Linked DNA regions of Homo sapiens: region 1 is linked to region 2. Evidence: promoter capture Hi-C in 16 types of primary human blood cells and fetal thymus (Javierre and others, 2016). All regions are on one chromosome and are shown on one strand. The core of a region is centred on a gene start or on the middle of the fragment in contact, and the rest is flanking DNA. Distances in the headings are between cores, read along the strand shown.

What was found. The method cuts DNA at HindIII sites, captures the fragments that hold promoters and counts their contacts. A CHiCAGO score of 5 or more calls a contact.
Region 1: a contact is called between the fragment with the promoter of IGSF3 here and a fragment that was not itself captured in region 2, in 1 of 17 cell types (total B cells). The highest score is 5.1, in total B cells.

What each region holds. Positions count from the first base shown.
Region 1 is chr1:116,666,483-116,670,679 of GRCh38, forward strand. It overlaps IGSF3 (immunoglobulin superfamily member 3), which reads right to left and starts at 1,251. Exons shown (of 11, transcript NM_001007237.3): 1 at 1,136-1,251; 2 at 1-474. RefSeq lists a silencer at 1,096-1,485. The HindIII fragment of the contact is 3,697 bases long and covers 1-2,937 here.
Region 2 is chr1:116,125,571-116,129,486 of GRCh38, forward strand. It overlaps MAB21L3 (mab-21 like 3), which reads left to right. Exons shown (of 8, transcript NM_152367.3): 6 at 1,896-2,074; 7 at 2,575-2,769. Among named protein-coding and RNA genes, the nearest start is that of MAB21L3, 16 kb to the left of the region's middle. The HindIII fragment of the contact is 7,397 bases long and covers 1-3,916 here.

The sequences.
Region 1 (4,197 bases), core at 1-2,500, 540 kb after region 2:
GAGGGAGTTGGGGGGAAGGGGAGGAGTGGAGGCAAGTGTGAAAACTCCCCTATGCTACAGGAAGGGTCCACAACAATTCGGAAGTCGCTCCCGGCTCCTGCCACATCGTGTGCCTTGCAGTTTCCACTGAAATTGCAGACTGTAGTGGATTAATCCTCCAGAAGCACGGAAAAAAGGGTCTGAGAAAATCCTTTCATCCACTGATTATACAGAAATGTCCTTGGCTTCTCAGTGAAGGTGTCTGTGATCTCCCTCATTCGGATTCCCCAGAGAGAACAGGGCAGGTTTCGTCAAAACCTTTGACGGCCAAATCACCCTGCCTGGCATCAACCGTTTGGGTTTCTTCACCAAAAAGTCCGTTTCCATCCATGGTGGTAGGTCACGGAGGCGCCACCTGCCCCACGCCTGCCTAGGGCACACGAAGCAAGTTGGCGTTCGGCAGCCCTGAAGCGGTACCCCAGCGCGAGCAGATTTCTAAAACAAACACAACAGAGATTTTTATCAAAGGCAAAGCTGCAAAACCCACTGGGGCTGAGCGCTGAGCTGGTCCGGACACCTGGGTCCGGTTCCTGGACCAGGACAGTCAACCTCTGCATTCTGACCTTGGGCAAGTCTCTGTCTTTCCCTCCGCCTCAGTTTCCCTGCCCAGAGCAGGGCAACAGTGGGAAGCCCGATTGTTCCTGAAATACTTCCACCAAATGCTTCACTCCTGGGAATTCCCGTCACCTCCTACCGAGCCCGGGCGCCGCAGGTAGCCCCACCCTCCGCCAGGGCAAATCGGGAAGGGGCTCCGCGGTGGGGCCGCGACTCCCGGCCCCCGCCCCAACCGTGGGAGCTCTGCGCGCGACGCGTCCCAGGTGGCCCCGCTATTGTTTTACCTTGCAGGGTGTTTATATCTCGCTGATTGGAAAGAAAAGAAACCGGGGAAGAAGGGAGTCCGGAGCTCCGCTTTCAGCTGCCGGAGCGCGCTCGCAGCGCGCCCGCCCAGCCAGGGGAGGGGTCTCGGGCCCGACCCGGAGCTCAGCCGGCGCGGGCCCGCTCCCCACTCCCCGCTCCCCGCTCCCCGCTCCACGCCTCCCCGCCTCCCTCCCCGGGGCCCCCTCCGGGCGCCGCCCGCGCCCCCGCCGAGCCTGACCTCGCCCCTGGCCCTCTCCCTCCGCGCGCGTCGGACCGTCCTTCAGTCCATCCAGGCGCACGCCTCAGGGGACGCGCCGCTTCCTCTTCTCCCGCAACGGCACCAGCAGCCGCGCTGCGGCCCCTCCCGAGTCCCCGCCCCTCCAGCTCCAGCCCGGCCCGCCGCACTCGGCGAGGCGAGCGCGGGGCCAGGGCGGCGGCCTCGAAGAGAGGCCCGGCCCCGCCCCCGGCCCCGCCCCTGGAGACGCGAGTCCCGGCCCCGGGCCTGGCGGGGGCATGAGGGTGGCCCGGGGCACCGGAGGACCTGGGCAGGGCTGGCGTGTGGGCCGAGCAGCCCGGCAAGTTAATCAGGGCTTCACACCCAGACTCCGGGGCCGCCGGCGAGATGTACAGGCCCTTCCCAAAGCCCAGCTGGCCACCCATAACCTGGGAAGCCGGCGGCACAGAAGCTCGTCCTTCCTCCTGGAAACAAAAACAAAGCCCTTTGGAGACTTGAATCTGTTCACGAAGTGGAACCCCATATTGCACTTCACTCTTGGATAGAATTTGGACTCTGGAAACAGCCTGGGTTCTAACGCCGGTTCCTCCACTTCCTCGCTGTGGCCCTTGGCAAGTTACTTAACCTCTCTGTGCCTCAATTTCCCCATCTGCTATGTGGAGGAAATAACCCTTACTTAAGAGGGTTATGGGAGAAATCTGTGACATACTTGTAAAGCATTTAGAATGGTGCCTGATACATCACAAGTGGTCAGTAAATATAAGCTATTATTATTTTATGACCAACCGCCCTGTAAAGCAAGTGCTTTTTCGTTTTCTCACTACTTACCCAACACACACAACTTGCTGGGTAGACACCGTCACGAGGCGACCAAAGCAGAATAGACCGCCCTGCCCTCATGCAACTTGCAGTCTAGTGGGGACACAGACCATAAAATAGACATGACAAGAAAAGTACAGTGTTGAGGAAGCAAATGCAGAGACCCCAACCCTGTGTTATTGGGGGAGGGGCAAGGAGGAGGGAGCTTTGGTCGGGGTAGGTCCCAGGCTTCTCAGAGGAAAGGAAAACTCGGTTGAATGCCAAAGAACAGAAGGCAGCAGCAGAGGAAGAGACAGAGGGGAGGTAAGGAATCGCAGACTGAAGAAACAGCACCTCTGCAGGCCCAGAAAGGAGCCCAGTTAGAGGACCAGGACAGTCTGCTGGGCCCAAACTTGACTGTAGGAGAGAAGTGACAAGAAATGAGCTGAGAAGAAATCGAGTGCCAGAACCTAGAGGGCATTGTATGGTGTGTTAAGGGGTTGGGACCATTGGGAAGCCACTGAAGGTGTTGAGTAAGGGACTATGGTTATCAGATATACGTTTTATTTTTCATTTTATTTTAAGAGACAGGTTCTCACTCTGTGACCCAGGCTGGAATGCAGTGGTGTAATCTTGTCTCACTGCAACCTCCACCTCCCGGGTTCAAGTGATTCTCCTGCCTCAGCCTCCTGAGTCACTGGGACTACAGGCGTGCACCACCACACCCGGATAATTTTTGTACTTTTAGTAGAGACAGTGTTTCACCATGTTGGGCAGCCTGGTGTTGAACTCCTGACCTGGTGATCTGCCCGCCTCAGCCTCCCAAAGTGCAGAGATTACAGGCATGAGCTACTGTGCCCAACCAGGAATCTTTCCTTGTGTGTTAATTATTACCTCTTTCCCAGAGACACCCGTGACTCTGGCAGCTCTCAGTTCCCATTTGCTAGACTCCTTCATTTATTTATTGAGCACCTACTACGTGTTAAGAAAAGTCTCTGCTCTCATGAAGCTTACATTCTGGTGGGAAACACAGACAATGAAACAAGTATATAATATAATGTAACGTGTTCTGAAGAAAAGTGGAGTATAGAAATGTGTGGGCGGGCACAGTGGCTCATGCCTATAATCCCAGCACCTTGGGAGGCCAAGGCAGGGGGATCACTTGATGTCAGGAGTTCGAGACCAGCCTGGCCAACATGGCGAAACCCTGTCTCTACAAAAAATACAAAAATTAGCCAGCCGTGGTGGTGCACACTTGTGGTCCCAGCTACTTGGGAGGCTGAGGCATGAGAATCGCTTGAACCTGGGAGGCAGAGGTTGCAACGAGCTGAGATCACACCACTGCAGTCCAGCCTGGGCAACAGAGCGAGAGTATCTCCAAAACAAACAAACAAACAAATAAAAAACAGAAAGGAAAAGAAATAGTGTGTATGTTTGGGGGTTCCAGTGGGAAGAAGGACTCTTTGCTAGGTGAGGTGGTCAGAAAAGACCCCTCAGAGGAAGTGACATTTGAGCGAGACCTGATTACAGGGAGTGTGTGAGCGCTGGAGATTTCTGGAGTAAGAAGATTCCAAGTGCAGGGAACAGCAAGTGCAAAGCCCCATAACATGTTCAGAAAATTAAAGGTGTGTTAGTGTGTCTGAAATGGCATAAAACAGAAGGAGAAGGAGGAATGTGATCAGAGAGGTCAAAGAGGCCAAATCTAGTAGGACCTTCTAACCTGAGGAGCTTGGCTCACTCTGGCTGCTGGGTAAGAATAGAGCATCAGATGGTAGGGGTGGACAAGGGACACTGGATGGGAGGTTCTTTCCATTGCGCAGGTGAGAGATGATCACAGCTTAAACTAGGGTGGTGCTGATGCAGGTTGTGGAAATGGGTGGAGTCTGAAAGCATTTAGAAAGCAGAGTCAATGAAATTCTCTGAAGAACTGAATATGGAGGGGGAGAGAAAGAGAAGAGTCAAGGAATCTTCCAGAAGGGGCATCTCAGCCTGCTTTGGAACTCTCTGACCCCCACCAAGGTGTACCCCCATCAAGGTGCAAGACTGTACTTTCTGAGGCCTCTGCCTAGGCCTTCATCCTTGAACCCCTATACTCAATTATCCCTTCTCTATTACTCGTTCTTTCAATCTCAACCTGCCCCTCTTCATACTACTTGGCCCCTTGCATCCTTCTGGATGATCTTTCAACCCTTGACTTCCATCACCACCCAGATGTGTTATGGCTGATTCCCAGCATGGCATTCTTTCTAATTTCCACATCTACGATA
Region 2 (3,916 bases), core at 216-2,715:
CTAAACAATATGAGATTCCATCTGTGTGAAAATAAAAGGATGTATTCATACATACATTTGTTTGTCTAGACAGAATAGTTCTGAAAATTTCCATAATGGTAATAGTTTATGTTTAATAGATTTTTTTACTAAGTAGAATAAGTTTCATGGGTTATTTAATTTAATCCTCATAACCACACAATACAGTAAGAATTCTTTTCCTACCTGTTTTAGAGATGAGGAAACTGAGACTTAGAGAGATTAAGTCACTTCTGAAGTTCACACACCTCATAAGCAGAGCCAGCTGCAGGGCAGGGTGTGGGCCGGCAGGGTGTGGGCCGGCAGGCTGGCTGCAGCATCGGCTCACCTCTTATGCTGTGCGACATTATTCATGGTGAAAGTGCAAAGCAGAGATTCAGAATGGGCAAGGTTTATGAGGCGCTTTTAGTAAATAATGCTAAAGTGCCAGTTGTCATGTTCCTGTCTGGGCAGCTCTGATGAGATGCAGACAAGCCCTTTATCCCACCCTGGCCAGGGAATGTTTCCCTTTTGAACAGCCTAACACAATTAATGTGCTTCCATTTTCTTCTCTGTGCAAGGAAATGCAAAATAATAGATTCCAATCTATTTCAAGAATTGGGATGAGCAAATAAGGATGAATAGATCCTGATCTATTCAAGACTGCTTATCTTTATCTGCAATGAAGGCAAACAAACAAAAACTGTACCTTTTGAAAGAAGAAGGAGCAAATTGGAAATGAGGAAATTATAGTATGTGAGCTGGAAAACTACTAGATGCGTTAGTTTTCTCTTCTTCTCTTTGCCTGGTTGGAAAACGAGGCAATGGAGACTTCTTTCAAATCACTCAATCCTCTGAAACAGTGGCTGTGACGTGCTTTGATGTATTTTGTGGTTACAGGGGTTTCTGATGATAGATACCTCTGAGGCTCGGCTGGCTGAATGGATGGTAAAAACAAATACCATCTAAGAGACTGAGGCTCAGATAAAAGAAAGGTGAAGCCAAATTTCACCAAAGGCATATGCATAAATAAGGAGGCTGATGCTGTCCCTAACCAGTGTCAGAATATCTAGGTGAAGAGGGAAAAAAAATGGCATTAGCCTTCCCTATGTTTGCATTACTCTGAAAACCAACATTTAGATATTTGGGTGGAATGGAGAAGGATATAGAAAAATAGTTAGGTTTCATTTTTACAGTAGCAAATACAGAAGTTCCCCAACTTGCCATGGCTCAACATATGATTTTTTTACTTTACAAGGGTGCGAAAGTGATACATGTTTAGTAGAACCCATACTTCGAGTACCCATACAACCATTCAATGAATTCCATGAGATATTCAACACTTTATTATAAAATAGGCTTTGTGTTAGATGATTTTGCCCAACTGTAAGTTAATGTAAGTGTTCTGAGCACTTTTAAGGTAGGGTAGGCTAAGCTATGATGTTTGGTAGGTTCGGTGTATTAATACATTTTCAACTTAGAATATTTTCAGCTTCATCAGGATGTGACCTCATCGTAAGTCAAGGAGCATCTATACTACACTTTTTCTTTTTATTCTATGGCTTTTACTTTCAGTTGATCCTCCTGAAAAGAATCTATTAATTTAAAAGAAAAGGTACCCCAAATGCCTTGGGGTTGGGGGAGAAAGAAAAACTCACCAGCAATGAGACTTCTTAGTAATGTTCCGATGCTGGCTAGCTGACTAACCATCTGGTTTTGATGTCAAAACCTTGACGTGCTACAGGCATTGTGATCCTTCACGTGCTACAGACATTGTGAAAGTTGCCACACCAGTTGCAAGGTGCTGGTCAGAGCAACTGCTCACAAATTTCTTGTTTGAACGCTTGTAATGTGCAAACCTTTCTCTTCTCCTTATCCATTTGGTCATTTCCCACCAGGTAAGGTCAGCCTGCTAGGAAACCGCTCTGCAGTTTGGGTTGCTGTGGAAACATCTGCATATCAGGTGGAACTGGAGCTGGTCCCCGCAGTGGAGATCCCCACCACCTGGTCCAAGAAAGCCCGGTGGCCTCGATGTCTGCAGCGCTGGCCTTCCCAAGAGAGAGTGGAGTGCATCAAGGTATCAGTGGGCGGGACCCAGCTTGCCAGAGCAGTGATGCCAACAGCTTAACCAGTCACAGCATTACTGACTGCCAATGAGTTTCCGAAGGAAAGTTGAGGTGTTACTAGATCAGCAGTTCTCAAAGTGTGGGCCCTGCAGCAGCGTCACCTGAGAACTTGTTAGAAATGCAGCTTCCCGAGCCCCCACTCTGGACCTGCTGAATGAGACCCTGTGAACAGGGCCCAGCAATCTGTGTTTTAAGAAGCCCTCTGGGTGATGTGATTCTGATGTATGCTCAAGTTGGAGAACTGCTGTAGGAGAGGAAGTGGGCACCATCTTCTAACTGTCCACATCCAAGGTGGCTTGTGGTCTCCCTGGCACCCCCTTCTCATCCCCACGTAGGATGTGCTGTCTGCCTGGTGACAAGTTCCCCAGACCAGCAGACTGCTTCAGAAATGGCTTTCTACACCAGTGAGCATTGTTCTTCTTATTTCCCAATATTTTTCTCTTTCTTCCAGTCGTTTGGATTTAACTTGTTGGCCTGTTCAAATTATCACTGGCAGCTGAGCTTCCTCCGTGCTGAGCAGGTGTTACTGGAACAGCTGGATGAAGATGGGGGCTGCCGTAGGAAGTGTTTTCAGGTCATGAGGCACCTGAAGGAGGACATCTGGTGCCCAGGGAACAGGCCGGTTATCACGTCCCACCATCTGCAGGTGAGTGTGGGGCAGGTTGGAGAAGACCCAGGGGCAGCTTTGGATAGGTCATTCTTCCTGTGGCCTCTGTAGGGCCTGGCCAGAGCCACTCAGAAGGGGTAGCATGTGTGAAAAATTCAGGATGAGGTTCTAGTATCTATATTTGCCATCCAACAAATTACTACGTATTATGGAAATATGTAAACTAGCACCATATGGGAGTCCACAACACCCCTGCCCAGGGTAAAATTTCCTCCCTCCCTTCCCTTTTCCAATTCTCTTCTATCCCACTTTTCCTCCCCTCTCACTTTTATTTTACCCACCAAACCAACCTGAGTGCTCACTAGGTGCCAGAAACCCTGCTGAGGTTCAGAAATGAATCACAAAATGTGGTTTGTGCCTCACACTTTGATGGCTTTATGTTTGCGCCAGTCTTTAAACCCACTGCAGCCTACGCACACCTCCTCATGCACACAGACCCACTAACACAGAGGGGACCAGGAAATGCAACACAGAGGTTACCACACACGTAGTGCCACACACTTCTTTCCAGGGTCCAAATCACCAGGCAAGGATCTTCCCTTGCTCTGCCAGCCCCTGCCTCTCCTTGCCCTAAACCCAACAGTACACATTCATTCATGCCTTCACTCACTCATTCAGCAAGTGTTTATTGAGATTACTCTGGGCCAGAGGCCTGCCCCAGTACCTGCTGTGGGCTCAACCTCTGCAGGCACAAAGGTGAACAGACACAGATGTGTTTCCTCACTCATGGCACTTCTGGTCTAGCATGGGAGATAGACATGGGTCAGGCAAGCCAGTGGGTGCGTGTACAATCACACAGTGAGGAAGCACTGGAAAGGGAGGAGTATGGCTCTGTGAAGGCTCAGAGCAGCAGAGCCTGACCTGGACTGGGCAGTCAGGGGGCCTCCCTGGAGAGGGGGCCTTTGACCACCCTCCCGACTCCCTCTTTCTCAAATTGTGAACCACACAGAGTGAAGTGTACTCTCATGTAGCAGCTCTGTGCAGCCTGCTGGAGTAGGGAGGTAGGAGACTCTTGCAGGACACCCCAGCCCAGCCTAGCTAGTGTGGGCTGTGAAGCCTAGCTTCAGCCCTCCTCCCTGGCCCCAGAAAGGATGGACTCCCTTTCTACTCAGGTAAGCACAAGTCC